2 separate regions of the Homo sapiens genome follow, and region 2 is linked to region 1. Evidence: promoter capture Hi-C in 16 types of primary human blood cells and fetal thymus (Javierre and others, 2016). All regions are on one chromosome and are shown on one strand. The core of a region is centred on a gene start or on the middle of the fragment in contact, and the rest is flanking DNA. Distances in the headings are between cores, read along the strand shown. Region 1 overlaps PIP5K1A (phosphatidylinositol-4-phosphate 5-kinase type 1 alpha). Region 2 holds the start of PSMB4 (proteasome 20S subunit beta 4).

Region 1 (3,355 bases), core at 432-2,931:
CACATACGGTGGCTCACTTCAGGAGGCAGAGGGAGGAGGATTGTTTAAGACCAGCCTGGTTAACACAATGAGACATCTCTACCAAAAAAAAAAAAAAAAAGGCTTTTGAGCAAGGATAAGCTCCAGAGCACTGCCAAGAAAATGTGGTCTAAAGATGAAGGCAAACATATGACTGTGAAACATCTTATTAAGACCTCAGAAAAACAAAAGGTATTGGTTCAGAGTATAGTCATCCCTCAATATCTGTGGGGGACTGGTTCCAGGACCCCTCCTTGAATATCAAAATCCACAATGCACAAGTCCCTTATATACAATGCTATGGTATTTGCATATAACTCACACACATCCTCCATATACTTTATTTTTATTTATTTTTCTTTTGAGACAGGGTCTCGCTCTGTCACCCAGGCTAGAGTCCAGTGGCGCGATTTCGGCTCACTGCAACCACTGCCTCCGGGGTTCGAGCGATCCTCCTGCCTCAGCCTCCTGAGTAACTTGGACTACAGGAACATACCACCACGCCTGGCTAATTTTTTTGTATTTTTGGTAGAGATGGGGTTTCGCCATGTTGCTCAGGCTGATCTTAAACTCCTAGGCTCAAGTAATCTGGCCGCCTCTACCTCTCACAAGTGTTGGGATTACAGGCGTGAGCCATCACGCCTGGCCCTCCATATACTTTAAATCATTCCTAGATTATTTATGATAACTAATACAATGTAAATGCTATGTAAATAGTTGTTATACTATATTGTTCAGGGAATAATGACAAGAAAAGTCTGTACATGTTAAGTACAGGCCTAACTGTACAGTACATATCAGCAACAACATAACATTTTCACGACTTTTTTTTTTTTTTTCAGTATTTTTTCGTTTCTTTCTTTTTTTTTTTCAAAGGGATGGGGTCTCGTTATATTGACCAGGCTGGTCTCAAACTGCCTCAAGCAATCCTCCCACCTCAGCCTCCCAAAGTGGTGGGATTACAGGCATGAGCCACCACACCAGGCTCTCAAGTATTTTCAGTCCACAGTTGGTTGAATCTGGGATGTGGAACCTGTGGATACGGAGGGCTGATTGTGCTATTCAGTCATACAAAAGGCTGTTCAGAAGATTATGTTTCACAGATCCTTTCAACCGAAAAACAGAGTCTGTAAGAAGCTTAGGTCTCATAAAGAAGATATTTATGAGTGTGGCTTTTGTCTAATGGAGTAAATCCCAAGGAGAATCACAGGAGGCCCACAAAATCTTCTGTATCAGTAGAAACACTGCCATCTTGGATCAAAAAGGACAGAAACAGTACAAAATAGAGACCACTAGTTCCCCTAAAATTCTACTGGAAAGAAGCAGCCTGAGAAAAGAACTCAGGTAAAAACACACTCTAGCTTTGATGAAAAAGGAAGACTCAGAAGACAAAACCAAGAGTCTAGAGGGTAGAGCCAAGAACCACGGAGAATTATTCTTCTGCTTTGAGGCCTGATAAAAGAAACTCCAACATTTCCTGGATTTTGGAACAGCAAATAAAATCAATGACTCCTTTTTGTGCCTCCCATTCTCCCCTTTTATGTACAGAAATGTGTATATTGGTTATCTAATGCCTGTCTCACCATTGTATGCTAGGTACATGGGGAAAGGATAACTTGTCTCTTTGGTTCCACAAGTTCACAGATTGAGAAGAACTGTACTTGAGGAGCTGTGCTTAAGGAACTATACCTGGGGGGCTCATCCAACCGGACCTAATTTAGGTAATAAAACTCTGGACTCTGAGCTAACGCTACAATGGGATGAGACCCTGGGAGGGGGTCAGTGTATTTTCGACATGGAGGTATGTAAATTACTGGAGACCAGAGAGCAGACTATGACAGGCAGTTTCTAAGATGGCTCACAATGATCCCTGCACCTCCTGGTATTCACACCCATGGGTAATTCCTTCCTCTTGAGTGTGGGCTGCATTTAGTGAACAGAATGTAGCACAAGTAGAATGTCAATTCTGAGATTAAGTTATAAGAGGCCATGGTTTCTGCATAGGCACATGCTCTCTTGTTCACTTGTCAGATAGCCCAGGTGCCATGTTCTGAGCTGTCCTATGGAGAAGTCCATGTAGCAAAGAACTGAGGGAAGCCCCCAGACAACAGCCAGCAAGGAACTAAGGCCCTCAGTTCAGCAACCCACAAGGAACAGAATCCTACCAGTAACCACATAAATAAGCTTAAAAGCAGATCTTCCTGTTTGAGCCTTCAGATGAGACCCCAGCCCTGGCCAACAGCTTAAATGCCACCTCATGAGAAATCTTGAGCCAGAGGACCCAGCTAAGCTGGGCCTGGATTCCTGACCCACAGAAAGTATGATATATGTTTGTTATTTTAAGCCACTAATCTTTGGGGTAATTTATTATGATGCAATCAAATTATAGAGGTTTCCAAGGACTTGAAAAGAGAGATAAGATTATATGGAGAAAGGGGCCAATAAACCAACCTTGTAGTTAGCATTTGCAAAGTCTCTCCAACTAGAGGTGAGAAACTGGGGTCAGGAATAGGCGAGCCCTCACTGATTTCCTCCAAAGGTGGAGTCTGAGGTAAAACATCAGGACGACCAAGGTGAACGCCTGGAAAAAAGATAGAGAAGATGGGGTACAGTAAATACAAGGAAAAATATGTAGCAGCTAGGCTTCCTGGATAGAAATGGGAGCAGAGGTCCTGGCCAGACAAGATAAAGGCTCAGAAGGAAGGGAGGGAGTACCCAATCACATGGGGACCCCAGCCCTAGCGCTGACCTGGCTCCACTTCTGCCTTTGTTGTCACTTGTGCCTTGTGTTCCCCAGAGACCGATGGCTGGTAAGTAATGCAGGAGTTGCCACTGGAGCCTGCTCGCCGAGAGAAAGATGAGCCAGACCGAAACTTTTTGGAAGGAGAAGGCTTCACTTCAAAAGGGAAAGAGAGAGCCTACTTAGCAACTACCTTAGCAACTATTACCAAGACATAGATACAAATAATTGCTAGTATCCCCAACACACACCCAAAGTTGGTCTGAAAAGTGAAAAGGCTAATGTCAACAAAGACAGGCCTATGAATTACTATTCAGAGAACAAGGTGTTAGCTCACTTCACTTTCCAAGAGGCATGAAAACCTAGAAGAAAGGAAACATATCCACACCTAACCCCCCAACATGGAGCCTTGATGACTGCTTTACTTCCATCAGATGAAATGTACCCTATTGCATAATTCCTTTTTTTTTTTTTTTTTGAGATGGAGTTTCGCTCTTGTTGCCCAGGCTGAAGTGCAATGGCGCGATCTTGGCTCACTGCAACCTCCACCTCCAGAGTTCAAGTGATTCCCATGCCTCAGCCTCCTGGGTAGCTAGG
Region 2 (3,355 bases), core at 383-2,882, 160 kb before region 1:
TGGGCTGAATAACAGGCTAGTTGTCTCAAATCTATGGTATAAAAAGCATTAGAGTGAAAGATGACATTCTACTTCTTGCCTCACCAGAATGAACTCTGCTTAGAAAATAAGCTAAGAGCCACTTCAGGAAGAAGTTCTAGGGTGTCCTCTCTTTGCATGTCTACTGACTCCCAGTCATGTCATCTTGTCACTGGAATCAGTGTCAACACCTACAGCCCCCAGACTACAAAGAAAACCATCTGCCCAGTAATAGCGATCCCAGCCCATCCCTCATATCAGAATTTCAGGAGAAAAGCAGACAACCACTAATCCATTTCCTTTTGTCTTCCCTTTCCCCCACCTCTAGACTTACTACTTACCTGAGCCAAGTATGCACCATAACCAGTGGCCAGCGAAGGGGCTTCATAGGCTACACCAAGCATGTCCACATAACCGAGGAAGCTAACAGGACACAATGGGTCAAAACTCATTTCACCTTAGATTCATCTTAGCTGAAGAAGGGGACCATGGGGTCTGAGTTAAAGTGGGATTCACTTGGGGAGAAGAGACAGAAGAGATACTACACAGGTACTAGGTTGGGTGGTAAAGGAAATAAGTTATTTGTATTCATATGAACCTCTCTCCATCAGCATAGCCTCCGATGACCATGGTGTTCCACAAAGGGTTCATCTTCGAGCGCCGGCTGTACATGGCCCTGGTCAGCCATGAATGAATAGCTCTAGGACTATAGCTGTGTCCATCTCCCAGAAGCTCCTCATCAATCCTTAAAAGGAATTGGTTGTGAGAAAAGGGAGAGAATTAAGTCGGGGTCTCCACCCATCCCCAAAAGAAGTTACCACACCTTCCCCCATTTTACACCTAATGCCAAAAACTTTATTGCAAACACAGATCGCCCACCTCCAACAACTCTTCCAGTCCCCCGCTGCAACAAGTCCCCCCATCCCATCGAAGGGAATAAAAAACAGGGGACTCCCCTCTCTACTTGGGAACCACTCTCCTGTTCTCTGGATGACTTACACCATCTGGCCGAGAACTTGCTTCAAATACTGGAAATCAGCGTAGTCGCCAGAGGCACCCAGCATGGTACTGTTGTTGACTCGCATAATGCGAGAGATGTTGCGGAAACGAGCCAAGGAGCCGTAGGATCCCAGCATGTCTGCGGCAATCACCACTCCGCCCTCGAACTTAACGCCGAGGACTGAGGTCCCGGTCACCATGGGGTTCCTAAAGAGTGAGAACGGTGGGAGCTGAGAGGGGGGATGGACTGCGCCCTCTTTCCGCGCACTGAGCTGCGCTTCTGATTTTCTATAATTCCTTCCAATTATTCTGCATTCTCCAGGACTCCGCGCCCTGAGCTCCCCTGCCGTTCGCGCGCCCCCGGGGTCCCCGCCTCACCTTCCCGGGCTCTCAAAACCAGCCGGCAGCACCAGGCCCCACGGTCCCTCCCGCTACGCAAACGAAAGCGCCGAGAACTTACTGGGTCCGCGTGATTGGACCTCTGTAAAGTGCAGACGCCGGATCCATGAAGGAATCGGGAGTGGACGGAATGCGGTAAAACTGTCCTGGGGCCGGACCCCCCGCCCAAAGTCCGGACCGCGACCCCAAAAACGCTTCCATCTTAGTCACGGTAGCAGAAAAAATGAAAGCGCTTGCGCCAACGGAAGCGGAAGTGATCCTTCAGTGTCATTTCTTTCTTTTTCCTGTAGACGACTTCCAGCAGCCATGTTGATGAGGTCGTAGCTGAACATGCAGTAATCCTAGGTGGCGACCGAGACAGGGAGTTGAAATTGCCCAACATCGCTTCGCATCGCATCGCATCTCCGTGGAGTTTGGACCAGATCACAGCGTTCTAACACACGATTCAAGGAGGAGGGAGGCATGAAGGTGGGGTGGGGAGGTGGCCACTTAAAGACGCTGATCCTGAGTGAGACGTCACAATTTTTTATTTTATTTTTTATTTTTTTGAGACGGAGTCTCGCTCTGGCCCCCAGGCTGGAATGCAGTGGCGCGATCTCGGCTCACTGCAACCTCCGCCTCCCAGATTCAAGCGATTCTCGTGCCTTAGCCTCCCGAGTAGCTGGGATTACAGGCGCCTGCCACCACGCCTGGCTAATTTTTTGTATTTTTGCTAGAGATGGGGTTTCACCATGTTGGCCAGGCTGGTCTCGAACTCCGGATCTCAGGTGATCCGCCTGCCTCGGACTCCCAAAGTGCTGGGATTACAGGAGTAAGCCGCCTCGCCCGGCCTAGAAGTCACAGTTCTCATGTTCCTTTTGTATCATTATCAAAAAGCCCACATGAAAATATCAGTGAACACAGGATCTCTTACATCTGTACTCCTCAGAGCAGCCCCATGTGGCAGGCATTATTCGACCCATTTGGTAAATAGGAAACCGAGGCTTGCGGTGTAGTGATTTACCCAGTCACACAGCCGATAACGGTAGAACTGAATCTTGAAGCTAGAATAAAAAAAGGAATCAGGGCCGGGTGCGGTGGCTCATGCCTGTAATCCCAGAACTTTGGGAGGCCAAGACGGGAGGATCACTTGAACCCAGGAATTCAAGACCAGCCTTGGCAACATGGTGAGACCTCACCTCTACAAAACAAAACAAAACAAAAAATTAGCCAGGCCTGTAATTCCAGCTACTTGGGAGGGTGAGGTGGGAGAATCGCCTGAACCCGAGGGAGGTTGCAGTGAGCCAAGGTGGCGCCACTGCACTCCAGCCTGGGCAACAGAGCGAGACCCTGTCACAAAAAAAAAAAAAAAAAAAAAAAAAAAAAGAATACACTTGTGTATACCCTGTGGGGTGTGATAGCTCAGGTGGATCAAGCACTCTCTGTGGGACCTTAGACAAGTCTGAAAGTTTCCTTATTGTCAAGGGCCCTTGCCCACCTCTAAAGAAACAGAAAAATTCCATTGGAAGTGTAGGGGTGAAACTAAATTCCAGGGGTTTCCTTCTCAGTGTAACTCCATAGCAGGGGCTGGAAACTGTCTTGAATCAAACTGGTGAATTTTGTCAAAGATAAACAAAGCCGGACACTAAAGTGGAAAGGACAGATTTCAATCAGTAATAACTACTACAATAAGGAAAAACAGTTCAGCATGAACTGAACTCAACTGCAATTTGTATGCAAGTAATGGGTATTTTATAGGGAAAATGAGGTTAGGGGACAGTGAGACAGAGGGTCAGTAGAGTCAGGGAAGTGAACATTTACAGAATTAGTCAATGTAAATGTGCTTAGGTCAATGATGTCTGCTAGCTGGCATTTATGGAAGTTAGGATTCCATCCTCCCACAGAGACTGGTGAGGATACCATCCTCAACACTGTCCTTAGGTGTCTTTTGTTTGTTTGT

The links. The method cuts DNA at HindIII sites, captures the fragments that hold promoters and counts their contacts. A CHiCAGO score of 5 or more calls a contact.
Region 2: a contact is called between the fragment with the promoter of PSMB4 here and a fragment that was not itself captured in region 1, in 4 of 17 cell types (erythroblasts, M2 macrophages, endothelial precursors and 1 more). The highest score is 5.6, in erythroblasts.

What each region holds. Positions count from the first base shown.
Region 1 is chr1:151,241,682-151,245,036 of GRCh38, reverse strand. It overlaps PIP5K1A (phosphatidylinositol-4-phosphate 5-kinase type 1 alpha), which reads right to left. Exons shown (of 16, transcript NM_001135638.2): 13 at 2,768-2,914; 14 at 2,470-2,599. Among named protein-coding and RNA genes, the nearest start is that of PSMD4, 11 kb to the left of the region's middle. The HindIII fragment of the contact is 1,047 bases long and covers 1,158-2,204 here.
Region 2 is chr1:151,397,850-151,401,204 of GRCh38, reverse strand. It overlaps PSMB4 (proteasome 20S subunit beta 4), which reads right to left and starts at 1,632. Exons shown (of 7, transcript NM_002796.3): 1 at 1,478-1,632; 2 at 1,018-1,224; 3 at 617-763; 4 at 360-441. The coding sequence starts at 1,617. RefSeq lists a silencer at 905-1,062 and enhancers at 831-1,552, 1,903-1,952, 1,553-2,275. The HindIII fragment of the contact is 7,561 bases long and covers 1-3,355 here.